Regions from separate parts of the Homo sapiens genome. Here regions 2, 3, 4, 5, 6 and 7 are each linked to region 1. Evidence: promoter capture Hi-C in 16 types of primary human blood cells and fetal thymus (Javierre and others, 2016). All regions are on one chromosome and are shown on one strand. The core of a region is centred on a gene start or on the middle of the fragment in contact, and the rest is flanking DNA. Distances in the headings are between cores, read along the strand shown. Region 1 holds the start of SIRT5 (sirtuin 5). Region 2 has its middle 45 kb from the start of CD83. Region 3 has its middle 63 kb from the start of CD83. Region 4 overlaps PHACTR1 (phosphatase and actin regulator 1). Region 5 overlaps PHACTR1 (phosphatase and actin regulator 1). Region 6 overlaps PHACTR1 (phosphatase and actin regulator 1). Region 7 overlaps PHACTR1 (phosphatase and actin regulator 1).

Region 1 (3,742 bases), core at 559-3,058:
GAAAGCACACCAACTGGAAAAAACGGCAAGCGGGTTTCATTCCTGGCCAGGAATAGAGAAGGAGTAAACTTTCACTCTAAAGACCCCCTTCTTCCAGAGCTTTGGGAAGCTGGGGAATTGTAAGGCGTTAGATGTGGAGTGGGGAGGTATGCAAGCATATGCCGGGAGGAACTCTAGACGCACAGGTGCATTTCATAAACATGCCTCTTCATACAATGCACTATCAGAAAATGGCGGCGATTCTCTTCTACGGGTCGGGAGTTGAGCATATAATGATGTATTAATGATCTAAAAGTAACAAGGGGTGGCTGGTTCTGGTTTTCTCTGGTTCCTAGTAGGCCTTATCTTTCTCTGGTACTTGGCAAAGGGCAGTGAGGATCCCGGGCCAACCGCAGTTGTTTTAAGCTGGGTTACCTATAGATAAAGAGACTAGGAAAAAAAATCAAACAAACAAAACGGTTTAAAAAACAATGAGCATTTTCAGCTGTCTACTGTTTAAGAAAATAATGAGCTCTCAGTTTTGCCCTCTGAGCGATTTCTCCAGGACTGCCCTGGTAACACTACTACTCAACAGTTTTGTGCTTTGCGCAGTTACTTGACCTCCCTGGGCCTCGGTTTCCCCACCCATAAAGTGGGGATAACAGTACCTATTTCATCAGGTGGTGGGGACGATTTAAAATGGTTAATAATGTGCAGTTCTTAAAAGTGTCTGGCTCAGAATAAGCACCATACACGTTAGGGGGAAAAACAGCAGCCGGATGTGAGGCCCTCCCCAATTTCGTTACTCCATAAACCTCTGAGTTGCTGGTAACACCTGCAGGAATGAGAAGGGCCTCAACATGGGCTGAATTTCCAGCCAAACTGTGGGAAGTGGCTGAGATTTTAGGTAGGCAAAAAATGTTAATGTAACATTTTTGGCCCCCAAGTTCTCAGACCACTTACTTCCCTTTCTAGTCCACTGACATGCCCGCAAGCAATTCCATTCTGCCAAGTGGTGCTGGTGGCAAGCCGGAATCCAAGAAAAGGAAAGACTCCGATTTTAAGGGAACGGGGACATGCGGAGCCACGTGAGTCACTGGGTCCCAGAGCCACGGAAGGCTCTCAGCTCAGCAGTCAGAGTGCACTCGTCATTGCGTTCGAGGTTAGGTGGCCTAGCCTGGGAACCAACTCACCGTCATTTGAAATCGTTTTAGGGAAAATGACCCTAACATTTAAAATCCTCTCTCCTGAAGTTGTGTGGTCCAGCCGTTTGCTGAAGGAGGAAGCAAAGCCGGTAGTAACTCACTACATATTTGGGCAGTGGAATGAACCCTGGAAGCTGACAAAGTCGAAGCAAGTCACTGCGCCGCCCCCCACCCCCACCCCCACCCCAAATAAAAACAGAGAGACAATCCTTCAATTATAAAGAAGACCACGGCGCCCGGGTCTCCGGCAGGGGCCGCTGCAGCCGAGCAGAACGCTGAGCCGCTCCGCCCCACGGCCTCCTCTCCAGCCGGCGCGCCCGCCTCCCGCAGGTGCGTCTCTGCCTGCGCCGGGCCGGGGTCTCCGCGGCCTCTCCCGCTCGGGCTCCGGCTTCGAGGTCCCGACCAAGCACTGCTCTCGCGGGACTGCGCGCACCGCCCAGGGCCTGCCGCGGGCTCGCGAGCGGAGGTGGCACCGGTCCGCGGTGCGCATGCGCGGCCCGGCCTCTGCCCTGCGGTCCCGGGCTGGTGACTGGCTAGCGGTTGGAGGAAGGGATGTGGGGGATGGTGGGTGGGTACAGAGAGCTGGGAGGGAGGCACCCCGGGGGGCGGGGCGTGGGAGACTGTATTCGGGGGCGCGAGCTGCCCCAGGTGAGCCGTGGCTCAGGTCCGGAGCGCGGTCGGGACACAGCGCCTCTAGGAGAAAGCCTGGAAGGCGCTCCGGGGGTACCCAGAGCTCTTAGCGGGCCGGCAGCATGTGCGGGGCCCAAGGTCTTCCGGGCTCTGCGTGGGGGTCGCTGCGGCTGGAGACCAGGGAGGGGGATGGAAACGGGGTTGGAAAGTAATCCCACCCGAGCAGGTGGGCATGGGAGGCCGCTGTGCTGGGGAGCCCCGCGAGGGCTCCGAACAGAGCCTCCCTTTTCAGAAAGGTCACCCTGGTCATTGCAGCTGCCAGGGTGACCGAGGAAGGTGGCCGGGGTGGAGGCAGTGGGCGTGGAGAGGGGTCGGATTCCGGACGTAGTTTGAAGGTGGAGCCGTCAGGTTCTGCTGAGCAGCTTGGCTATGGGGCGTGCGAGAAGGGAAGGCTCAGGGCCTAGTCCCTGGGCACGAGTAGTAGCCGGGAGGATGAAGTCCCAGTGCTTCGGGGGGAGGCGGCTTGAGGACGGCTCTGGAGCTCAGGCTTGCCCGCGTGGAGTGGAAGCTGCCTCTTGGACACAGGGCGGGGAGGCCGCATGCAGTCTGGCGCGCTGGGAGGATGGGAGATCCAGAGGGGCAGGGCTGGAGGGGTAGGAGGAAAACCTGAAGAGGGTGGCGCCCGGAAGCCCGGGAAAGTGATGAACTGGGTCAGAGGCCGGGTATCAACAAATAGGAGGGTGGAGACGACCTTGAGGAAAGCAGGTGATGGAACGGGAGGGAATGGGGCCCCCTAGTGGAGACACCTGGGAGTGATGTATTGCATTTATTTAGCTCTTAGGCGTTCAAAAATTATTTATTGGGAGCCTGTACAACTTTTTGCAGTTCATTGCATTATCCTTAGCATGTATTTTGTTTTATATAAATATATATTTATATAATTATTTTTATTGACAAATTTATATATTTATAGCGTACAGTGTAATGTTTTGATATATGTATACATTGTAGAAAGATTAAATCAAGCTAATTGACATATCCATCACCTCACCTACTTATTTTTTGTGGTGAAAATCTACTCTCCTGGAAATATACAATACATCATCAACTATGGTCACCATGCTGTGCAGTAGATCACTAAAACTTACTCCTCTTACCTAACTAAAACTTTGTATCCTTTGACCAACATCCCTCCCTTCCACATCAGCCCTCTGCCAGGCCCCTGGTAACCATCATTCTACTCTGCTTCTATGAGTTCAACTTTTTTAGACCCCAAGTATATAAGTAAGATCATGTGCTGTTTGTCCTTCTGTGCCTGGCTTATTTTACTTGGCCTCATGTCCTCCAGGTTCATCCATGTTGTTGCAAATGACAGAATTGCCTTCTGTTTTAAGACTGTATAGTATTCCATTGTATATATGTGCCACATTTTCTTTATCCGGTCCTCAGTTGATGGATACTTAGTTGCTTCTATATCTTGGTTATTGTGAATAATGCTGAAAACAACACAGGAATGCAGCTATCTCTTCAACATACTGATTTCAATTCCTTTGTATATATACCCAGAAGTAGGATTTCTGGGTCATGTGGTAATTCTATTTTTAGATTTTGAGGAGCCTCCATACTGTTTTCCAAAATGGCTGTACTAATTTACATTCCACCAACAGTGTACCAGGGTTCCCTTTTCTCCACATTCTGGACAAAACTTGTTGTCTTTGATCTTTTTTATAATAGCCATTCTAACAAGCGTGAGGTGGTAGCTCAGTGTGATTTAATTTGCATTTCCCTGGTGGTTAGCAAAGTTGAGCGTTTTTCATGTATTTGTTGACCATTCATATGTCTTCTTTTGAGGAATACCTGTTCAGGTTCTTTGTCCATTTTTTAACCGGGTTATTCGTTTTGTTTTGTTTTGCTGTTGAGTTTTTTGA
Region 2 (3,742 bases), core at 831-3,330, 500 kb after region 1:
GATGCTTCTCCTGCCTCCAAGTTAATAGTGTCATTGGTACCTTTTCAACATATGAGAGCTTAGGCTCACGGAAGGCCTCTAGTGCATGTACACCTGATGTTCACTGTGGTCAGATGTCCACAATGTGGCACTTCTGCAACAGGCATGCTTATGTGCTGGGGGTGGGGAGGGAGGATGATGACTATGCTGGGGAGGAAGGTGGGCTCCTGGCTGCAGGCACATTCAGAAAACTGTCCGCCTCCATCACCTTTCCAAAAGCCAGGCCTGCTTTAATGAGGTGGGAGCAGGAAGGAAGTGAAGACTTATCACAAGGGAAGCAGATGGGGGACAGAAGAAGCCAGAGAAGGGCAGTTATGGAATGCATTTGGAGTTATAAAAAAGTTAGTTGTTGCTCGGCGTGGTGGCTCATACCTGCAATCGCAGCACCTTGGGAGGCCAAGGTGGGCAGTTTGCTTGAGCTCAGGAGTTCAAAGCCAGCCTGGGCAACATGGTAAAACCCCATCTGTACAAAAAAATACAAAAATTTAGCCAGGTCTAGTGGCCCAAGCCTGTAGTCCCAGCTACTCGGGAGGCTGAGGTGGGTGGATCACCTGAGCCTGGGGAGTTGGCTGCAGTGAGCTGTGATGTCACTTACTGCACTCCAGCCTGGGCGACAGAGCAAGACTCTGTCTCAGAAAAAACAAAAACAAAAACAAAAAACAAGTTGTGGCCTGTCATCTCAGCACTTTGGGAGGCCGACGAGGCGGGCAAATCACCTGAGGTCAGCAGTACGAGACTAGCCTGGCCAACATGGTGAAACCCCATCTCTACTAAAACCACAAAAGTTAGCCGGGCATGGTGGCACATGCCTGTAATCCCAGCTACTTGGGAGGCTGAGGCAGGAGAATCACTTGAACCCGGGAGGTGGTGGTTGTAGTGAGCTGAAATTGCGCCATTGCACTCCAGCCTGGGTGACAAAGTGAGACTCCGTCTCAAAAAAAAAAAAAAAAAAAAAAGTGGTCCTAGTGCTTTTTTGTGAAAAGGGAAATTCTCAATATGATGCAGACATACCCGCTGATTCCCGTAATTTCAGGCTGTTAGCAAGAAAAGCCAAGGGGATTTTTAAAAGCCCATGAGCCACATTCGGTGAATACACTGGGCATGTGCTCCACTCTCCCCAGCATCTGACTCATCTTAACACACAAACCAACAAATTCTCCACCCGAAGCCAGAGTGCAGCCTGACCAACATGCCTCTTGGTTTTTAAGGGTCTTTATCTTTTGAGAGGATAGACACTAAAACAATTTGTACTGGCCGGGCATGGTGGCTCACACCTGTAGTCCCAGCACTTTGGGAGGCCAAAGTGGGTGGATCACCTGAGGTCAGGAGTTCAAGACCAGCCAGGCCAACATGGTGAAACCCCATCTCTACTAAAAATCAAAAACTAGCTGGGCTTGGTGGTGCATGCCTGTAATCCCAGCTACCTGAGAGGCTGAGGTAGGAGAGTCGTTTGAACCCAGGAGGCAGAGGTTTCAGTGAGCCAAGATCATGCCACTGCACTCCAGCCTGGGTAACAGAGCAAGACTCCACTGTAAATAAATAAATAAAATAAAATAATTTGTACTGAATAAATGAAGACTAGCTCAGAGAATATAAAAGCATAAACATTTTATTTTGGTAAACTCTCTTTTAGTTTTTGTTTATACATCAATATTTAAATGCAAATATAAACAGAATATACCTTTTTATATAATTTATATTGTTTCAATATAATATGTACATTTTCTCATGATGGCCTATAGCCTTTGTAATTACCAAGTGGCTGTATACAGGGAGATAATATACCATAATTTATTAATTATGCTTCCATTTTTGCATATGCATTTCTTTTCCAATTTTTTGCTATTTTGATGTTTTTCCTTCATAGAGCTTTTTCCTTCACTTGAATTAAGGAGGCATTTTTGGGATAAATTCTCAAGAATTGCATAATTGGAGCACAGAATATGAACACCTTGTTTAAATGAATATATATTATCAGTTTGCTTTGCCAAAGAGTTGTATAAATTGACAATATCAACAGCATTGAAGGGTGTTCTAATTTTATCATAAATTCACCAGCATAAGGTCCTGTCTTTAAAAACCCTTTGTTAATTTAGAAGATATATGATGATTATTTTAAAAATTTACATCAGCTTACTGATGAGATTGGACATTTCCCCATATATCTGTTTCCTATTTGTATTTTCACAAATAGGAAAATTGGGGGATTTGGGGAGATTATTGCCTGTATCTTTCCCAGTTTATCTACTGGGTAATTCATGTTTTCCCACTACTTTAGAAGGACTTCTTAGTATATAGATACTAACACTTTGCTATTCATATTTGAGATAAATAATTTTATTTTTTATTATAAAGAAGTATATTTTGCATGTTTGAATGTGTTAATTTTTTAATTAAATTGTTACTTTGTTACCGGAAAGGGGTCCCAATCCAGACCCCAAGAAAGGGTGTATTAGTCGGTTCTCACACTGCTATAAAGAACTACCTGAGACTGGGTAATTTATGAAGAAAAGAGGTTTAATTGACTCACAGTTCCACAGGCGGTACTGGAAGTATGGCTGGGAGGCCTCAGGAAACTGACAATCATGGTAGAAGGCAAAGGGGAAGCAAGTATGTGTTACCATGATGGAGCAGGAGAGAGAGCTAAGGGGGAAGTGCCACACACTTTTTTTATTTTGGAGACAAGAGTCTTGCTCAGTTGCCCAGGCTGGAGAGCAGTGGCATGATCTCAGCTCACTGCAACCTCTGTCTCCAGGGTTCAAGTGATTCTTGTGCCTCAGCCTCCTGAGTAGCTAGGACTACAGGCACATGCTACCATGGCCTGCTAATTTTTGTATTTTTAGTAGAGACGGGGTTTCGTCATGTTGCCCTGGCTACTCTCAAACTCCCAAGCTCAGGTGATCTACCCATCTTGGCCTCCCAAAGTGCTTGGCTTACAGATGTGAGCCACCACACCCAGCCACTACGTACTTTTAAACCATCAGGTCTCATGAGAACTCACTCACTATCATGAAAACAGCAAGGGGAAATCCACCTCCATGAACCGATCACTTCCCACCAGCTCTCCCCCCAACACTGGGGATTACAATTCAACATGAGATTTGTGTGGAAACAGAGTCAAGCCATATCTGAGGGTTTTTGTACCTCTCACAATCTGTCTCTCCTGGGATTCTAATGTACAGGTGAGTTTGATAACCACTAGGCTAGAGGAAATGTACTAGAAAACACACACACACACACACACACACACACACACACACACACAGAGAGAGAGAGATTTAATGTCTCAAAATGTGTCTGCTCAAAAGTATCATTCAATAATTTCATGTCTTTTTGTATAAAAGGTCACAGGGATAATATTTACTTCTAAGGAAAATGTCTTTTGATCATGGGAATGATCCAGTTAAAGGGAATAGCTCAACTAAAAGTCAAGGTCTAATTTATAAATGAGGTTTATACTCCCCTTTTCCCCATGGTTCCTTCTTGCAATTTAAATCACATAATGGATTGTCATAAATGGGATCATAGTTTCCTGCAGGGACCCTGCTCTAATTATTGGTTGACTCTTGATTAAGAACCAAGCATGACATAAATTAATCAGAGATACAAGTAGCAGTCTGTCAGAAGAATAACTATTCTGTGGTTAAAATCTTTTTATTTCATATAATAAAACCACAGTTCAAGTCCAGAACCGGGGCCTAAT
Region 3 (3,742 bases), core at 496-2,995, 480 kb after region 1:
AAGAGGTGGAGGAAATATACTCCGTGAAGGAAGGGGAACATTTCCCCTTATACCCAGGTAATATTGAAAGCTTGGAAATGACTGAGTTAAGCCAGCCTACCATGTGCCTTATTATAGTTTGTTCCATCTATGGCTGTTGTCTGGCATTTTTTAAACAATCACAGGCATTTTCAGGATATATTAAGTCATTTTTATTTTGGTGGTTGATATATAGCTGAAGTTGGCAGGATTGGCTTACTTCGCCTTTATTGGAACTCCACACAAAGTGGTGCACTGGTAAATGTTTGTTCAACAACTAGCTTTCTAGGAAAGATATGTATGCAGATATATAAGCACATATATTTATCATAAATTTTACTGATGTAAAGTGTGTAGCACACAATTCACAAATAAGTATAAAGTAGGCAATACTCTTGATTATAAATTTCAATAGCCAATTGATTCTTACAAAAGGCTTTTGTTGATTTCTGCTGAATTATTGTATCCATAGTCAACCTGGGGTTCTAATCCAACCATGATTTGACAAAAATCAAACTATGAACTAACGTTTGATTACTATCCCATTCAGCAAAGTCACTCAAAGCATTAACAAATGAGTGTAGTTCTAACATGAATGCTGATGGATGTTTTTGTTTATTCTGAATGAACAGAAAGAAAACCATCAAGATGTGGAAACTTCATTCATTAGTCAGTATGAGTAACAGCACTGAATTAGATCATCAGTATTTTTGAATCGGCTCTCCCAGTATTTTTGCATACTGGAAGAATATTTCCTCAATTTTTGGTGCTACTCACAATCTAGCAGCTATAGATCTGCTTTTCAGTTTTATGACACACTTTTACATTGAATCTGCATCATTAACATTTCCTGTCACCTTTTAAAGTATAGACAAGCAACAAAAAAGCCCTGACTTTTAGTGTTTGCCAATTTTTGTGGTGTAAATACTCCTTGTATGGCTGATTTCCAGCGTGACATTACTGCGCACATTGACCAGACGAGATGTGCATACATATCATTATGTAGTACTTTGACAATACAGGTCCAATAGAAGAAAATAACTCCCAGAGCCTAGGTAATAACAAAATGTAGTAAAATTATTAGAAAGAGATGTTTTGAGTATTTATCACCCTTGTTTTTAATACAATTTAATTGCAATTTTATACAATTTAGGGTTTTGTTTGTTTGTTTGTTTTGAGACGGAGTCTTGCTCTGTCACCCAGGCTGGAGTGCAGTGGTGCGATCTCGGCTCACCGTAACCTCTGCGTTCCGGGTTCAAGCGATTCCCCTGTCTCAGCCTCCTGAGTAGCTGGGATTACAGGTGACCACCACCACGCTGGGCTAATTTTTGTATTTTTAGTAGAGACGGGGGTTTCACCATGTTGGTCAGGTTGGTCTCGAACTTTTGACCTCATGGTCCACCCGCCTCGGCCTCCCAAAGTGCTAGAAATACAGGCATGAGCCACCACGCCCATCATTTTAGTTTTTAATAATAGCTGTATTTAACAACCAGCTTGCAAAATCCTGAAAATTTAACAATCAGCTCCCGTGGGTAGTACAAACTGGCTCCAGCACCCCACCACTGTCTGCATATCACTCCCATTTAAGTGGAAAAGATTAGTTTCTTCTCATAAAGTGCTGTGACACTTGCCTTCTAAAATGAAACTTATGGCCGGGCGCAGTGGCTGATGCCTGTAATCCCAACATTTTGGGAGGCTAAGGCGGGTGAATCATGAGGTCAGGAGTTCGAGACCAGCCTGGCCAACATGGTGAAATCCTGTCTCTACTAAAAATACAAAAATTAGCCTGGTGTGGTGTCACGCACCTGTAATCCCAGCTACTCGGGAGGTTGAGGCAGGAGAATTGCTTGAACCCAGGAGGCAGAGGTTGCAGTGAGCTGAGATCATGCCACTGCACTCCAGCCTGGGCGACATAGCAAGACTCTGTCTCAAAAAAATAATAATAAAATAAAATAAAATGAAACATATAAACAGGTGCCAATATATGTATGTCGAATGAATGAATTTAGAAGAATATTTAATCAAAGCATGCTCTTGATTTTTACAAAATCATACAACTGAAAGTAGAATAACTACATCTGAACTAGCAAATACTGTACTTACTGTAATTAGTCCCTGTTCTCTGCTGCAGTGTGATTTTCCACCCTTCTTCTAAAGGTACAGCTTGAATTTTGAAACTAGGTCCCTACAGTTTGATCCTATCTTGTTTGACTTGGAAGAATAACTCATAACACAGCTGATTTTTAAAATACTGGTAGGTTCCTTAAGACTCTGAGTGTGATGTCTGCTCAGGTGAGCATCTGCTAATTAGCTAGCTGGGATCTGGTCCTTGGGGGACTTGTTTTACCAGCTGCTTCAGGTTGTTTACACTATGAGACACTCACCTTTATCCCTGCAATTAATTAGGGGTGGGGCCTTCACAGTCTTGCTTTTGATTCACAAATGACAAACAACTTCCCTCTCAGCACACTCCTCTCCGCAGTGTTATTCTTCTGTGACTGATCTGTTTGTGGGTTACAGAAGGCAAGCCTAGAGCTGTATTGAAGTCTCTGCTTTTCAGGCACAGAATAAGGTAGCCATCCATCAGATGAGCAGGGACCTATGGCACGACTGTTCTCTTGTCTTTCATTTATTCTCATTCACTCTCACTCACTCAAATAATTAATAAGTACCCAGTGTGATTATTATTATAATCTAAGCAGTGTGATTATTATTATTATTATTATTATTATTATTATTATTATTTTTTTTTGGAAACAGACTTGCTTTGTCACCCAGGCTGGAGTGCAGTGGCATGATCGCAGCTCCCTGAAGCCTCAACCTCCCAGGCTCAAGCAATCCTCCTGCCTCAGCCTCCCAAGTAGCTGGGACTACAGGCGTGCGCCACCACATTTGGCTAATTTTTTGTATTTTTTCATAGAGACAAGGTTTCGCCATGTTGCCTAGGCTGGTCTTGAATTCCTGGCTCAAGTGATCCACCCACCTCAGCCTCCCAAAATACTGGGATTACAGGCATGAGTCACTGTGCCTGGCCATGAATTCTTAATACTTAAAAAACTTCATTGACTTTTTCTTACAGAGGCAAAGCGTAATCATCATTGACTGTAGAAGACAGTAATGAAATACAGATAAGCAAAGACAAAAGAAAAACATCCATAATTCACTCTCTCAAAGATGTTCACTAAGTCTTCCAGACTTTTTAGTGCCTATATAACATAAGATTGCAAAATTGGGACCATACTTAGTCTAAGGTTGTGAGTTTTTTAACTTAAAAATATATAATGAAAAAAGTTACATAAAAACTTTTTAAAAATGTATTTTAGTGATAAAGTTTTGCTCTGTCTCCCAGGCTGGAGTGCAGTGGCACTATCATTGCTCACTGTAACCTCTTACTCCTGGGTTCAAGCTTTCCTGCCTCAGCCTCCCAAGTACCTGGGACTGCAGGTGTGAGCCACCGAGACCTGCTAAGATTTACTTTTAGTAAGCCTTTAACACTAGTTAGTCCAAGGAGCAGACAAGATGTTCCTTTAGACTCATTGTCTTGAAGGGAAATGAAGTGACCCTTTTTGTAGTCCTGTCCACTCTGGAAGGGCAGCACTGGTGCAGAAGAAACCGAGTGGCCACCGCAAGCCCTTCTGCATAGAATAAGCTGTTCATGGAATGAGGCAGTTGGAGGCCTTGGAATCTTGTCGTTATTTTCTTGTGGTGTCAATTGGATTAGAAT
Region 4 (3,742 bases), core at 802-3,301, 390 kb before region 1:
GTGATTTCCATTGCATGGGCTTACAGTCTGCACTGCTTTTGCTTTCTTATTAATTAGTAATCATCATATTATTGATCCCAATTATAATAACTTTTACTACCATTTTGGGCATATAAAAAAGCGGAATTAAAAAAAGAAAAAAAAACACACTCTTCAAATGCTGGTGCTTTACACTGTCCGCTTCAGATGATTTTTTTTTGGCATTCATTATATTTTTTCTATGCTTATAGAAGATTCAGGTCAAACACCATATGCCCTTGAATCATATGCTGTTTCAGGCCTGTTGGTTTGTTGATTATTCTGTTAAACAGATATTCACTGGACGGACTCTAATCGGGCGGGGGTGGGCCAAGGAGGGATTCTGTGCCACCATAGATCAGTGATTTATAAAATTAAACTAGAGGTGGAACATAGCAAAAAGGAAAGGATTATTTACCCAAGAATCACCTTGGAGTCACTTAACTGTTTCTTTTCTACGAGTTGTCATCTTGCTTCTGGTTTTAAGTCGGATAATTGCTCTGCTGGTTTCTGTTTCTGACTCGGCAGAACTTAGTCTTTCATCTGGTGTTTATTCATCTCGCTGGAACAGCTTTCAGTCCTCTTTAAAAATTAATTTGACTTTAATGTCTAGTTATCTAAGACTCCCCTGGGCTAGGATGAAATCACACAGGGGGAATTGTGATTTGACAAATGGCCATTGTATGGGAGCCTTTGATCCTGCACCGTGGTCCTTGTTTTGCTGAGCTTTAAGCAACATCAAAGTCTGCACTACGTGGCGTGATTGGTGGTCGGCACCGGGAGAATTCTGGCACTTCCCAGCATCGCTGAGTGGCTGCAGCCTGTTAGGTGCAGATGAGAGCTGTCCTAATAGTTTATCCAAGTAGAGAAATTGGACCAGGGTGGAGGCAAACAGAAGACAGGACCTTGGTGCGTGTTGAATGACATGAAGCCCTTTGCTCCCTAAAGTAGGAATTCCCAATCCTGGTCTTCCAATCTCTGAGGCTTGCTGAGTTTTTTCCCAAGTTTTTAGAAATTATGAGAAAAAAATAATTTTAATTTACTTTTTATTTTTAAAAATACATAGAAAATGGCCGGGCGCGGTGGCTTATGCCTGTAATCCCAGCACTTTGGGAGGCCCAGGTGGGCGGATCACCTGAGGTTGGGAGTTTGAGACCAGCCTGACCAACATGGAGAAACTCCATCTCTAATAAAAATACAAAATTAGCCGGGTGTGGTGGCACGTGCCTGTAATCCCAGCTACTCAGGAGGCTGAGGCAGGAGAATCGCTTGAACCCGGGAGGCGGATGTTGTGGTGAGCCAAGATCATGCCATTGCACTCCAGCCTGGGCAACAAGAGTGAAACTCTGTCTCAAAAAAAGTAATAATAATAATACATAGAAAACGTGATGGATTCGGGTTAGAAAGACACAGAGAAAACAGGCAAAATGCTGAAGATCATTGGAAATTTTTGCCCTGATGATTAGACAACATATCTCTAACGATGAAATAAATGTCTTAAAAGCAAAATAACAGATGTTGGTTTCAGAGGCTGACCTTGATTGTTCAGCAGCATCTAGACTCAGCAGGCGGGAAGTGCCACTCTTTCTTGAAAGGCAGACATTGTCTAACTCTGCAATCTCCTTTTCTCTCTGACAGATGGGGAACTCTCTATATCCAATGAAGAGGACTCCCTAGAAAATGGGCAGTCCCTGAGCTCCAGCCAGCTGTCTCTGCCTGCCCTGTCCGAAATGGAGCCAGTCCCAATGCCCAGGGATCCCTGCTCATATGAGGTGCTCCAACCGTCAGACATCATGGATGGGCCAGGTAATGCCCCGGCAGGATTGTAGAGCAGGTCCCAGACACCAAGTCCAGCCAGGCACCAGGGATCTTTGGCCTGGCTGGACTTGGAATTCTATTTTGGACTATCCTGAGCGTAAGGATCTGGAAATTTAGTGAAACAGATTAGTTTTTAGTACATACTGAGTATTTTTAAAAATGGAATATACTTACACTTATTATCCTACAGTGTTTAAAAAACTCTTTACTACCTTAATCTCTTTAAAGATGATATGGCTTATTTTTGTAACATTAATGATTTAAAATATTATTATTTTGTTTTTTAACATTCATCTCTGTTAAGATAAAGCTGAGGAATCCTACATTTCTATATGATACCTATCTAATTCGTCTGTCTGAAAGGTCCTTTAGTCTTAGTCCCAGTATGCCAGTTAATACTTGTATCAATTTACTGGATATAGTCAATTAATTTAATTGTCTATTAAACTGTATATAATTTACTGATTGAATTGTATCCTGCTGATAGCTGATTTTTGATGCCATCTGACTGTCATCTCCTTCTTTGGTCCAAAGGTGGCTGAGTGGCCAATACTCATCCTCTCAGAAGGTTTGCAGAGCGGTCCTAATTTGCCCCAAAATAGGTCCCTCCTGACAGCTAATGAGCAGTGGTACTTGTCAGGAGATGAGTCTGGGAGAAGGAACCTCTTGCAATATCCAGAGTATAGATAGAAAGGCCTCTCTCCCCATCATGTGCAAAATCCACATCCATAGGCAGTCACGTGGGAGGGTGGGAGGGATGAGGTTTCACAGGGTTAATTCCCATGCTTCGTTATGGGACCCGGTGAGTCATTGCTCCATCACTGTGTGCCACATTGACAATAATAGTGTCCCTGAGGCAGGAGAATGTAGTGCTCATGAGGATTTTCAGCAGGGCTTTGGTGCTGCACAGAACACCTGATCAGGGAGGAGGAAGGAGGGTGGGGAGGGGAGGAGTCCCTTACAGGCTTTCTCACTGAGGCGGTGGCGGGAGGTGAGAGGAGATGCAGTGGAGTTACACCCTCCCACCCCAGGGAGGGTTTCCCAATGAAAGCAGTGCTTTTTTAAAAAGAATCCAGACTTCCTTGTGACACTGAAGTCAGATAGATTTGACTGTTATAGTAAAAATCTGTCATTCCAGCAGAATCACAGAGTTTCAATCTGTCATCAGCCAAGCTACCGGCATGATAGGAAGGTGTGTGCCACCACCCAATGACAACTCTTCATGAAAGCCAGTCAGGGGTTCCCCCATGAAAGAAAGGAAGAGGCGCGTCCAATGCAGTGCAAAGAGAAATGGAGGAATTGATAAAAGAAAACTATAGTTGTGGTGAGCAAGAAGAGAGAGGAAAGGGGAAGATGAAAAGGTTGATTTAAAGCATCCCTTGCCTCGTCAAAGTTTACAGGAGCTGGTGGGGGCAGGATGCTGTTGCTAAAACTACAGAATTTGGGCTGAGAGGCTGCTGCTCAGCGCCGGGCACTCCAGAACCTGGAGGAGCAGCCGTCCAGTGCCTGGGGTGCAGCCTATGAGGTGTCAGCGTTCCAGGCTGTCATCTGTACCCAGTGTCGCAGATTTGAGAGCAGAGACAGAGCGGACCCAGTGGACAAAACTGAGCCCCTCCACTTGTTTGAATCCACTCCCTCTTGCCCCTCAGCAAAGGGCAAGCAGGCCCCAGCGAGGCTGCTGGCATTCAGTTCTGGTTTGGTTTAGAGGGGCTCTGCATCCTGGGCCTTCTGCACTGGCCACCCTGGTGATTCCTGCTGTGCCCCATGAGTCCCATCTTAGAGCATGTGTAGGGTTTGCATGACCAAAGCTGAGTTTGAAATGGTCAAGTGTTTGATGGTTTTGAGAAAACATCCTCCTCCTCTTTCTCCCTGTTGCTCTTCCCGCCTCCACTCTCTCTCTTCCTCT
Region 5 (3,742 bases), core at 391-2,890, 370 kb before region 1:
GGCCAGGAAGCATCTTAAATCCAAATGTCTGGCCCAAAGATTCTGGTTCAGCAGGTCCAAAGTAAAGCCCAGGAACATGAAGTTGCATCAGGCAACTATTGCAGGTGTTCCAAGGACTCTGCTCTAAGAAATAGTGCCCTTTTGTTCAGAGAAAAGGACAAAAGTAAGAGGCCAAGAGTTATTTTTGACTGTGGCTTTTTACAAATGCAATGCTGGGCCAGGTGGCCAGCACTGGGTGGCCACCCACTTTGGGAGGCCGGGGTGGGTGGATCACCTGAGGTCAGGAGTTTGAGACCAGCCTGGCCAACATGGTGAAACCCCATCTCTACTAAAAATGAAAAAAAAAAAAATTAGCCAGGCATCATGGCGGACACCTGTAGTCCCAGCTACTCGGAGGCTGAGGCAGGAAAATCACTTGAACAACCCGGGAGCGGGAGGTTGCAGTGAGCTGAGGTTACACCATTGCACTCTTGCCTGGGCAACAAGAGCGAAACTCTGTCTCAAAAAAAAAAAAAAAGAAAAAAATTAAAAAAAGAAAGAAATATAATGCTGGAACCCAACCTAGAATCCCTGAGAAGAGGAATGAGCATCATTGTGATTCTGATGCACCCCCAGTCCTGGTCCTGAGGACCACAGGGCAGTGAGCACGTTCCATCATTGCCCAGCCTCAGAGTCCTGCTGCAGCACATGTAGGAGGAGCCATCCAGGAACTAGCTGGGAAGACAGGGCTGACCCAAATGGAGCCAGCAGTAACCAGCACAAAACAGAGCCAAATTCACTGGCGCTGCTGACCACCAGGGTTGTAGGAGTTAAGGGAGGAAAGGCTGCCAGAGGAAAGCGGGTCTTCATTTGCCGCTTGAGGGGCAAATGCAATTTTTATTATCAAGGAACAGGAAGGCATTTCAGGAGGTGAGTACAGCAAAGGCCCTGAAGAGAGAAGGAGCGTGGTTATCGGGAAATCCAGAGGCCAGAGTGGACGAGAGAGATGTAAGTGGGAGACTCATAGTAGAGTCCAGACAGAGTCATACTTGGACTTGCAGCATGGACTGAGCATGGAGCCATCATGGACCTCACGCATGCCCAGCAGGTGCTGTAGGGAGATAGATATCTGGTACAGAGTGGGGACAGATCAGAGGGCTGGGACCGCATTATCCACACGATAAGAGGAGATGAGTGTCTAGACTGGTGTAGTGGTCAAGAAGCCAGAGAATACAGAAGTCTGAGTGGGAAAAGGGAGATTAAAAGCTTAGATGGAAGTTCAGAATGACAGATAATATGCAGCTGGTTCCAAATCGTGCCTCTAGTTATGTTATGGGGAATGACTTGGTGTTAAGATGTTGTAAAAATATACAAATAGGCATTGCCACTCTAACAAAGACATGAGCTGCCCAGCCTCTCCTCAGTTATCCACAATTTTAGGGAAAGATAGAGACTGCATGGCTAATTCACAGAAAGCAAGTAATTCTACCTGATTTTAGCCCTTTTCTTACTTTTGTTCATTTTTATGAAATCCACTGAGCCAAAAATGATTTTAAATGATTTGCTTTTATTCGCTGCCCTTTAATTCATAGCTATGTGCATCACAATGACCAGAAAGGAGATGCAGCAGGAAAGAAGGAGGGGGGTTCCCCAAGGCCCCAGCATGCCTTTCCTGGAACAGTAAGAACAACCGTCTCCACTAACTTGGTCCAGCTGGCCTTTTCTTCCTTGCCTGTTTCCATAGAATTGCTGGGGCTCACTTGGCCAATTTTCTAGTGATGAAACCAAGTAGGTTTTGCTATGGAAGAAGTCACAAGAAGTGGTGGAATGTTACGAGAAGCTATTGATTAACAAGATGGGCAGAACTCAATATAATCACTGCTCCTTCCTAGGCAGAGAATTCCACTCTGCCCTCCTGGTTCTTTCTCCTGACCAAGCAAATGAGCACCTACTTGCCTTAGAGAATCAGAGTCTTCAAATGAAGGACTATGGGTTAAGGGTCCTGGAGCAAAATCCTTAACACCTCAGGACATACTGCATTTGCTAGGTTTGCACTGAAGCTTTTTTTTTTTTTTTTTTGAGACAGAGTTTCACTCGCCCAGGCTATAGTGCAATGGTGCAATCTCAGCTCACTGCAAAGTCCACCTCTTGGGTTTAAGTGATTCTCCTGCCTCAGCCTCCCAAGTAGCTGGGATTACAGGCACCTGCCACCACACCCAGCTAATTTTGTATTTTTAGTAGAGACGGGGTTTCACCATGTTGGTCAGGCTGGTCTTGAACTCCTGACCTCAAGTAATCCACCTGCCTCGGCCTCGAAAAGTGCTGGGATTACAGGCGTGGGCCACCGCGCCCGCCTGCACTGAAGCTTCTAAGAGCTATGTAAGTGGACCCTTCAGTAAGATGAGCTGGACAATGGTGTTGAGTTTTTCCGTGTCTCAGCACTTTGGAACTAGCTAGCCTGCCTGTTAAGTTCCTGAATGTGGTGACCTTGCACCATGTGCATGAGGGGTCACAATGAACAGGACAAGCCCTCAGGAATGAACATGCGGAAGCCTGTGGTTATGACTGGTTTGCATTCTGGTGTTGGGGAGCAATCTTATCAGGCCCCCTGAAATGATTAGAATTTTCTGTGTCTCAGCGGTAGGATCAGAAGTTTAGTGTCCATATGCCACAACTGCGTGATCCTAAAATTGTAATCTGTTTCAGGCTCACATCTCCCTCCTAGAGTATCTATTTCTGGGGAAGGTGTGAATTCATCCCACAGCAGATCATCATAACTTTGGCTCATTCTGTAAACATGATTTGCATCTCTTGTGATGTGAGCTGGTCACTGAACAAGATGCTGAGGTTTGAGGTACAATAATAAATTACACACTGTCACTCTTCTCCGGGAGAGGAGACAGTTATGTAAACAGGAAGTGCAGCATAGTGTCTTCAGAGACCCTGTTTCATCATCTGTAAACATGAGATAATAATGGCATCTACCTCAGACTTGTTGTAAGGATTAAACCGGTTAGAATACAAAGAGCCCTTAGAACAGTATCTGGCACATAGTAAGCATGATAGAAGTCTTGATTATCATGACTGTCGTCATTCCTGCTATCATCATTAACACGATTAACACGGACATAATATGCATCCACGTTCCCACTCTCTTTCCACAGAGTGGGAAGAGGGATGTAATGATCAAGGAAGGCTTTTCAGGGGTGATTGTTTGTGAGGTGGATCTTGAAGGGCGACTAGTAATTGACCAAGAAGACAAAACAGAGGAGAATATTCTAAACTGAGGGAAAGTGACATGCAAAAGCCTAGGGTTATGGGAACATCAGGCAGTTTAGGAAACTCAGCAGTTCAGGAGTGAGGGTGGATGGTCTGGGTAATGGTGAGAAAAGTGGGCTGGAACTAAATGGGAGGTGGGGAAGCCGTGAGTGCTCCTCTTCAGTTCCTCACTGGGATAGGGAGAGGCATCTGTGGAAGGTGAGGATCCTGGAGGAGGCTGGGGAAGACTGCAGCAGCTCTTGGGAGAATGGCCAAGGCCACCTGGTCAACTTTGTTGAGCATGGAGACCCTGAATCCATGGGCCACCAAATAAGTAGAATCCACAGGAGAAGTGATCTGGGCCATAGGAGAGATTCTGCTCCAGCTTTTCAGGTGCCATAGGTAAGGTTATTTCCAACTGGGGGAACCAGAGCAGACTTTATAGAGGTACAATGTGGACATGAAGAGATGAACCAAGCAGGAGCCAGCCCATGGAAGGCCTTGA
Region 6 (3,742 bases), core at 805-3,304, 350 kb before region 1:
TCCTAGGCCATGATAAACCACACAATGTATGCCTGCTTTCTTAAAAAGAAGCTGATTAACTATTTTCTTAGGCTACATTGGTTATTTCTGCTATTTTTCAGCCTCAGGCACTGCAATTTGCAGCATAATTTCTCACACATTTTTGGTCTCCAAGAGGAAAGTGGCTGATTATTCTCTCTCCCCTCTGAAAACTCTCTTCATAACTTGTGCAGACTAAATTACAAAAGCTGTTCCTGTTGAAGTTTAATTTGGCTTTCAGTGTCATATTTGTAGATAATAAATTTTCTCTGTCCTTTGAGGAGATTAATGTCTTTCTTTTTTTTAACAGTGGATGCATTTAAAATCAGATATCAGAAAGCAATATTCCCTTTATTACATGTTTTTCTTTAGAAATGATGGTGAAATGGATCCCACCTATTTTAGAGAAAGATTAAGGATTTAAAAGAGACAGTGATTTTCAATTTTATGACCTGCCCTTGATTCCCTACAAGAGTTTCAAAGGTGTTTGCCGGCCAGTAATTCCCCTCCCATGGATGGGTCACAGTGATTTCCTACTCATCAGCCTGTACCGTGGAATGGAGATAAAGTGATGATTACAAAGCCCCCTTGAAAAGGGAGTGCCTCTTATAATGACCCAGACTCACTGTAGATGTCTTGGCATTCATTCCTGTATGAAAGACTGAAAGTAAAGTCTGGGCCTTACCCTTATCCAGTAATGAACATGAAAGATAAGTCAGTGTCTTCATTTTTGAAGTCTAGAGATCCCTTAAAAATATTCGGCCATTGAAATGGTGGGAAAAGGCCAGGCACGGTGGCTCACTCCTGTAATCCTAACAACTTTGGGAGCCCAGGAGTTTGAGACCAGTCTGGCCAACATAGCGAGACCCCATCTCTACAAAAAAAATCAAAAAATTAGCCAGGTATGGTGACACCTGTTAGTACAAGCTACTCAGGAGGCTGAGGTGGGAGGATTGCTTGAGCCCAAAGGTCCAAGGTTGCAATGAGCTATTTAAAAAGAAGAAGAAGAAGAAGGAGGAGGAGAAGAAGAAGAAGGAGGAGGAGGAGGAGAAAAAGAGGAGGAGGAGGAGGAGGAAAGAGAAGAGAAGAGAAGAGAAGAGAAGAGAAGAGAAGAGAAGAGAAGAGAAGAGAAGAGAAAAGGTAGAAAAAGGGAAAGGAGGCAGAAATGGTTATCTACCCGGGCTCTCAACCTATGCATCTCCTACTTAGTTTAACAGAGTTAAAGAGAAGAGTCGAGTTTTCCAAAAAGAAGGCTTGGTAAAGGTCATTCTTGGTGGGAACAAGACCAAGGGAATAGAGTACAGCTTTTCACCTCCCTAAGGCATCCTGTAGATGTGATGAGAGGAAGGCAGTTTTAAATGTGTGCCTTTTATTGACTCGGGACTGCCATTTTCCTCTCAAGCTTTCCAAATATGTCTCTTTTCAGTGTTTCTTGTGTAAATAGCAAGGCTTCTGTTTTAGGGATACTTCTGTTCATTATTTTCTGTTCATTTAAGCTGTTCCATCCTCTAGGGGAAAATGAGGATGAAACAAAGTCCTCATCCTTGTGAGCTTACTCGTTAGTGGGAGCGACAGGTAATAAGCCTGTGAATGTGTAATGTGATGTCGGGCAGGGACGGGGCACTGAAGAACCATCATGCAGGGTCATGGGAGGAGCGTGGTGGTGATGCCTCTCTATCCTCAAGGAGACGTGTTATTAAAGTGGCCACAACAGATACAAAACCCACTGCACGACCCCTTTTTATCAGCAGCGCTCCGTTGTGCAAGGCTGGATTATCCAGCCTGGTAATTATTCTGTCCTTCCTCTTGTCGCCTATTCTCTCCGCACACCTACTCACCCCCAGCCATGTGCTACTCACACAAAACTTGTATCCCCAAGTCTAGAATTCAAACCCCCTCCCTGTGTGTTCCATAATAGCGCTCATCATGGGACTCTTCACAGCAAAATTCATAGCAAGAGAGTAGCTGGATTGTGTGAACATCTGTTATCCTTGCTTTTTGTTATAAAAATATTATAGTCCACGGTTTTTAAAATTTGCGGTATAAATTGCATTTCATAGTCAGCATATACATCTACAGAAAAAATGATGGGCTTTGCTGATTCTCCAGGAGAAAGCAACATGGTTCATGGAAAGAACACAGGCCCTGGGTGGGAAGACCTGAGTTCACATCCTGCTGTGATCACTGCCGAGTGATCACTGTGTTCTCAGAAACCTCATGTCCCCATTCATAAACAATCAAGATAATAACAATACCCTTCTTAACTCTGCAAGTTTTTGTGGTGATTAAATGAGATGATGAACATTTACAACACGCTTTCATAGGGCACTAAAGGACCATCTGCGGTAGCCATGTGGTGGTTTTGAAAGATGCTCCTGCTCCTTCATCCTGAGCTGTGGAACCCGCTGGTATCTTTAAGACATTGTGTGGAAATATTCCGAAATGGTGCATCTATCTGTCCAACATCTTGTGAATATCATGGAATGCTGTTCAGTTTCTGCATGTTCATCCCTATTACATTTGTCAAGAAAATGACATTATTTGGTGCTACCTAGGTGATAGGGAGCAGAAATTCATCTGTTTTTCCCTTGGAAAATAATTTAAGGCCTTTGGTCTTTGTTTAAATTCATTATAGAATGTTAGTATAAGAGGAAACCATATAGATCTCATCAAGCTTAATGACGTCACCTTACAAAGCAGCCTAACTTTGGACAGTCTGAATTAAAGTGGGCTGACGGCCTGTGAGTATAGAATTGGAAACTGGAATATCATAAGCTCTCTCTGTTACCTCTTCTGTGCAGACACAGTCCTGGAATGAAGGCCACACGGTACCAATGTGCTCTTGCTTGCATAGATCTCTGTGCCTTAGCTCCTTGAGTTGTCTTCTTAGGAAAAAGACCTCTAGAGCACTATTTCCAAAAATCCTAATGCTCCTTTCACAAAGATAATTTCCCTACAACAGCAAGACTCTATCTAAGGGTCAGGGATCCTAATTTTAGCAAATTAAGTAATTGAAAATGTAATGTGGTGTATTCTGATTGTGTGTGACTTCAATTCAAATATTTGATCAACTTATCCATCAGTTCCAAACACATGTGCAATGTAGAGGTAGAGGCAGGAAGATCATCAGCCTCTGTCTTGGAGAGGCTCACAGTTAATTGGCGTGGGGGGTAAATGCTTAGCCTGTAATTATAACATAATGTGGCAGATGCTATAACAAAGCTGGGAACAGAGGCTATGGATGTGCAGAGAAGGGACTGATTTCCATTGGAAAAATCAGAAAAGGATGCTCAAATGAAATGAGATTTGAGTCATCCCTGAAAGATAGGCAGGATGCTCTCTCTAGGCCAAAATCTGAAGGGTGAGTTCTGGGGCGGAGCAACTGCAGGAGCAGAGGGAGGAGGCAGGGAAGTCCACAGGGTACTTGGGCAATGGCAAGTGGTCTGATATGGCTGGAACCCTAGGAAGATGGTAAGGAATAATAACAAATGAGATTGAAAGGAGTTGGAGGGTCAGATCGTGAGGCACCTCTTAATCCATGCTGTAGAGGGTGGAGTTGATCCAGTTTACAATGAGGCCTTTCCTGGCTCTTTTGATTAGGAGAATTACATGATCAGACCAGTTTGACAGCAGAATAGAGGGTGGACTGGGTGGGTGGGGAGGGGGAGGGTCTGGAAGAAGATTAAAGTTTGCAACCATTGGGGGACCACTACTTCTACATAGG
Region 7 (3,742 bases), core at 550-3,049, 320 kb before region 1:
CTAACATGGTGAAACCTCATGTCTACTAAAACTACAAAAATTAGCCGGATGTGGTGGCAGGCGCCTGTAATCCCAGCTACTCAGGAGGCTGAGGCAGGAGAATCACTTGAACCTGGGAGGCGGAGGTTGCAGTGAGCCAAGATTGCACCACTGCACTCCAGCCTGGGCAACAGAGAAAACTCCGTCTCAAAAAAAAAAAAAAAAAAAAAGTATGGTGACTAAAGAATCACCTATTTCATTTTTCATTGGGAAACCAAAATAATTTCCGTCTTGTAAGTTATGACCATTTATGTGGTTCTGCTCCACTGGCTGATGCTTCAAGGAAATAGTTTTCAGACATTGGTGACACTCCATGGTAGGGGCCCACCAGTTGTGGCCCACAGACTGAACCCACCCCACTCTCTGTCTTTGTCAATAAAGCTTTATTGGAACACAGTTACACTCATTCATTTACCTGCTCTCTGTGGCTGCTTACACACCATAATGGCAGAGTTGAGTAGCTGCAACAGAAACTGTATGGCCCACAAACCCAAAGTATTTACTATCTGGCCCTTTGAAGAAAAAAGAAATGAGACATTTAAGGACCTAGACTGAGGACATTAGAGAATGTGGCCTTCCTCTCACAGTGCTGATCCTAGATCTATTTAGAAAGTGCATGTGCCCGAAATATCTCCATTAGAGAAAGAAACTAAATTCATCCTCACACACATAGGGATTTCCTTTGTGCTCATTACTCTAATCATCAAAATAATCCCATTTACCTTTACTTCTTAGTCCAGATCCGCCTGTGAAGCATCATATAGCATACAGATTATGCTGGGAATACGGTCCAGTTTTTCAAACTTGATTTATTACCTGAGCAGTTAGAAAAGCTACTTCAAGGACAACCAGGTATCATTGAAAGCAGCTCAGCTCAGCTGCCGGCCAGATAAGAAGGGGCTGGCTGTGCAGACAGACTGAGAGAAGGAATCTGTGTAAGCAGAAAATGTATGTTGTCCTTAAGAAAGGAAGGCCACAGCCATGCCATGCAGGCTTAGCTTGAAAATAAATATCAGCAGGTGTGAGAAGTATGTTCCTGTTTTTGCAGCTGAAGCTAGATTCCAAGTCCTGCAGGAAAAGGTGGGGGCTGGAAGGAGGGTCGCCAACGAGTAAGAGCCAGATACTAAAACATGACTCCTTGGGCGCAAGACAGGTCTGGGCGCAAGACAGGTCTATCCTCAAGACAGGTGGTGCACAAATGGAGTGTTACACAGATAGGAAGAGATGTGGCAAGAGCTCTGGCAAATTGCAAAACCGTGGAATATGCTTGGGATGTGTGTAACACTGTGGTGAAGAGAGGCTGACAAATCCTCTACATGACACTTATTGTATGAAGAAAACATATCCATTTTACACACACACACACACACAATCAATCTTCTGATCAGTGAAAGGAGCTACTGACAGTGGTCCCTGTGCATCGTCCACATGCCTCTCCCATGAGTGGCAGCCACCTGAGAAGGGCAGCTTTCAGGGCCCCGAGTGGCTGTGTGTCCCTGTCTGCTGTGGGTAGGATTCTGCCTGCCAGGCACACTCAGCCTCCCAGTGACCTCTTGTTAGAGACACATCGGGTGGGATGCTGGCCATAGGCGGGCGCTCTCCTAGAAGGGGGAGATGGCTCCTGTGACTGAGGGGAACGTTACACAATCAGTCGTTCCCTCAGGATGGAGGCAGGTGTTTATCTTCACTGCAGGAGTTGGTTTGTCTGGTGCTCCCTGAGAGGGACATTACGGTCACGGGTGCAGGGCTGCAAATAGGATCTGTCCAGGTTCTCACCGGCCTCCAGCTGGGGCATTTCAGCATCAAGAAACTGCCTGCCCATGTGCTGGGGGCGCTGTGGTCTCTGATGTCTGTCTGGCCTCATATAGGGGAGGGTGGGGATGTATTCATGGTGCATGTGTGTGTTGAGTGTATTTGATGTGACCGGAATGTGAGAAAATAAAACAAAAAACCATAAGGAAGGGAAGAGAACACGGACTAATGTGTGCCAGGCTGAGCTCTGACAGTCCTATGGCAGATACCAGCTCTAAATTCAGCCTCTCTTTGAGTCTCCTATTTGAAAGCAGTTATCTGCGCTCTCAAGGGCTCTCTCTCAAGCCATTGAGTAGATTAGCTGAAGAATTAGTGAAAAATCATTTAAATTTATATATATAATAAGGGGATTGAGAGGCTGAGGCAGGAGGATTGCTTGAGGCCAGGAGTTCAAGACCAGCCTGAGCAACATAGCAAGATCCCCATCTCTACAAAAATTTAAAAATTAGCTGGGCATGGTGGCACACACCTATAGTCCCAGCTACTGGGGAGGCTGAAGTGGGAGGATCACTTGAGCTCAGCAGTTTGAGGCTACAGTGAGCTGTGATTGCACCACTGTACTCCAGCCTGAACAACAGAACAAGATCCTGCCTTAAAAAAAAAAAAAAGAAAGAAAGAAAGAAAAGGCCAGGAGGCACGGTGACTTATGCCCATAATCCCAGCACTTTGGGAGGCTGAGGTGGGCAGATCGCCTGAGCCCAGGGCAGATCGCTTAGACCAGCCTGAGCAACATGGCAAACCCCTGCCTTTACAAAAAAAAAAAAATAGAAAAAAAAAATTAGCCAGGTGCCTGGGAGTCAGAGGTTGCAGTGAATCAAGATCGTGCCACTGCAGTCCAGCCTGAGCAACGGAGCAAGATCCTGTCTCAAAAAAAAAAAAAAAAGAAAAAGGAAAGAAAGAAAAGAAAAAAGTCTAAAAAAGAAAAGGATAAAGTCTATTTGAAACTTCCATTTGACTCTCCATTTTCCATTCTTTTCCTTCTTTCCGTTTCCCATATAAATAGATCCTTTCCTGGATAAATAACTCATTCCATTATTTCCATTATTAAAATTCCATCTATCCTGATCTCATTATAATTAACCAATTTTCAAAGAATGCAAAAATACAAATCTACACTGGTTAGACATTCTTAAAATCTGCCATGCTGCTGTTATTAAAAAAAAAAAAAGTTTTGGGGGAGAGGAGAGGGGTCTCTTTGTTGTTGTGTCACATCTGCAGAAAAATGTATTTTGTGAAAGAGTATCGGCCGCAGGAAAACACTTAGAGATTAATGAGAGTATCTATATTCATACCATTCCTTTGGGCTACAAGGCTATTGGCTTAAAAATGAAGCTTTATGTTTAAATTTATGGACCATGGGTCAGGAAAGGTAGGGAAAATGAGACTTTTATTAAAGGAGAATTATAGAAAACTTAGCAAAATATTGCAGCCAAAACCCCCCTCCACTTGAGCATCTGAGATTCCTTGGGGTTTTTGTGTTTTCGTTTCCAGGTTTCTAAATAGCATGAGATCTCATCTGAACTTGAGTTGTTATTGTTTCCAGAAACAAGTTCAGAAGAGACTTTGGGAGACAGCTGGAAGGAAAATAGCTGTGGCCCCACTGAATGAGGAGGGAAAGGATCGGGATTCCTGCCACCCGTCTCCTGGCTTCTTCCCCACCCTCTATCCTCAGCCCTCTCCTTGGGAAGTATGATCGCCCCAAAATGAGAGATTGGCCCTTTGCGGGTGACATTTAAAACACATGAGCTGCACATGTTCTGTAGCTCCTAGGAGGAATCCACGTGTTGCAGTCAGAGAAAGACATGGAAGGAGGCACCTTGTTGCCTATTTTTAACGTTTCATCCCTTGCTTACCTTTGAAAAATGATTGGTGGGTGCATGTGTTGTTTATT

Evidence for each region. The method cuts DNA at HindIII sites, captures the fragments that hold promoters and counts their contacts. A CHiCAGO score of 5 or more calls a contact.
Region 2: a fragment that was not itself captured here is called in contact with the fragment with the promoter of SIRT5 in region 1 in 3 of 17 cell types (naive CD8 T cells, total CD4 T cells and naive CD4 T cells); the score reaches 6.2 in naive CD8 T cells.
Region 3: a contact is called between a fragment that was not itself captured here and the fragment with the promoter of SIRT5 in region 1, in 1 of 17 cell types (naive CD4 T cells). The highest score is 5.8, in naive CD4 T cells.
Region 4: a contact is called between a fragment that was not itself captured here and the fragment with the promoter of SIRT5 in region 1, in 1 of 17 cell types (monocytes). The highest score is 5.5, in monocytes.
Region 5: a fragment that was not itself captured here is called in contact with the fragment with the promoter of SIRT5 in region 1 in 7 of 17 cell types (monocytes, M2 macrophages, total B cells and 4 more); the score reaches 6.6 in monocytes.
Region 6: a fragment that was not itself captured here is called in contact with the fragment with the promoter of SIRT5 in region 1 in 1 of 17 cell types (naive B cells); the score reaches 5.0 in naive B cells.
Region 7: a fragment that was not itself captured here is called in contact with the fragment with the promoter of SIRT5 in region 1 in 3 of 17 cell types (neutrophils, monocytes and erythroblasts); the score reaches 6.8 in neutrophils.

The regions. Positions count from the first base shown.
Region 1 is chr6:13,572,793-13,576,534 of GRCh38, forward strand. SIRT5 (sirtuin 5) reads left to right here and starts at 1,809. Exons shown (of 10, transcript NM_012241.5): 1 at 1,809-1,952. LOC105374937 (a long non-coding RNA gene) reads right to left here and starts at 1,642. Exons shown (of 2, transcript XR_926497.4): 1 at 1,173-1,642; 2 at 1-429. RefSeq lists a silencer at 1,362-1,881 and enhancers at 1,574-2,160, 2,092-2,571, 2,161-2,746. The HindIII fragment of the contact is 7,984 bases long and covers 1-3,742 here.
Region 2 is chr6:14,071,112-14,074,853 of GRCh38, forward strand. No RefSeq gene overlaps it. Among named protein-coding and RNA genes, the nearest start is that of CD83, 45 kb to the right of the region's middle. The HindIII fragment of the contact is 8,249 bases long and covers 1-3,742 here.
Region 3 is chr6:14,053,298-14,057,039 of GRCh38, forward strand. No RefSeq gene overlaps it. Among named protein-coding and RNA genes, the nearest start is that of CD83, 63 kb to the right of the region's middle. The HindIII fragment of the contact is 3,354 bases long and covers 69-3,422 here.
Region 4 is chr6:13,180,863-13,184,604 of GRCh38, forward strand. It overlaps PHACTR1 (phosphatase and actin regulator 1), which reads left to right. Exons shown (of 15, transcript NM_030948.6): 7 at 1,657-1,824. Among named protein-coding and RNA genes, the nearest start is that of TBC1D7, 150 kb to the right of the region's middle. The HindIII fragment of the contact is 5,224 bases long and covers 1-3,742 here.
Region 5 is chr6:13,200,442-13,204,183 of GRCh38, forward strand. All of the region lies in intron 7 of PHACTR1 (phosphatase and actin regulator 1), which reads left to right. Among named protein-coding and RNA genes, the nearest start is that of TBC1D7, 130 kb to the right of the region's middle. The HindIII fragment of the contact is 794 bases long and covers 1,244-2,037 here.
Region 6 is chr6:13,217,761-13,221,502 of GRCh38, forward strand. All of the region lies in intron 8 of PHACTR1 (phosphatase and actin regulator 1), which reads left to right. Among named protein-coding and RNA genes, the nearest start is that of TBC1D7, 110 kb to the right of the region's middle. RefSeq lists a silencer at 1-23. The HindIII fragment of the contact is 1,272 bases long and covers 1,419-2,690 here.
Region 7 is chr6:13,249,610-13,253,351 of GRCh38, forward strand. The region is part of intron 10 of PHACTR1 (phosphatase and actin regulator 1); the gene reads left to right. Among named protein-coding and RNA genes, the nearest start is that of TBC1D7, 77 kb to the right of the region's middle. The HindIII fragment of the contact is 2,763 bases long and covers 419-3,181 here.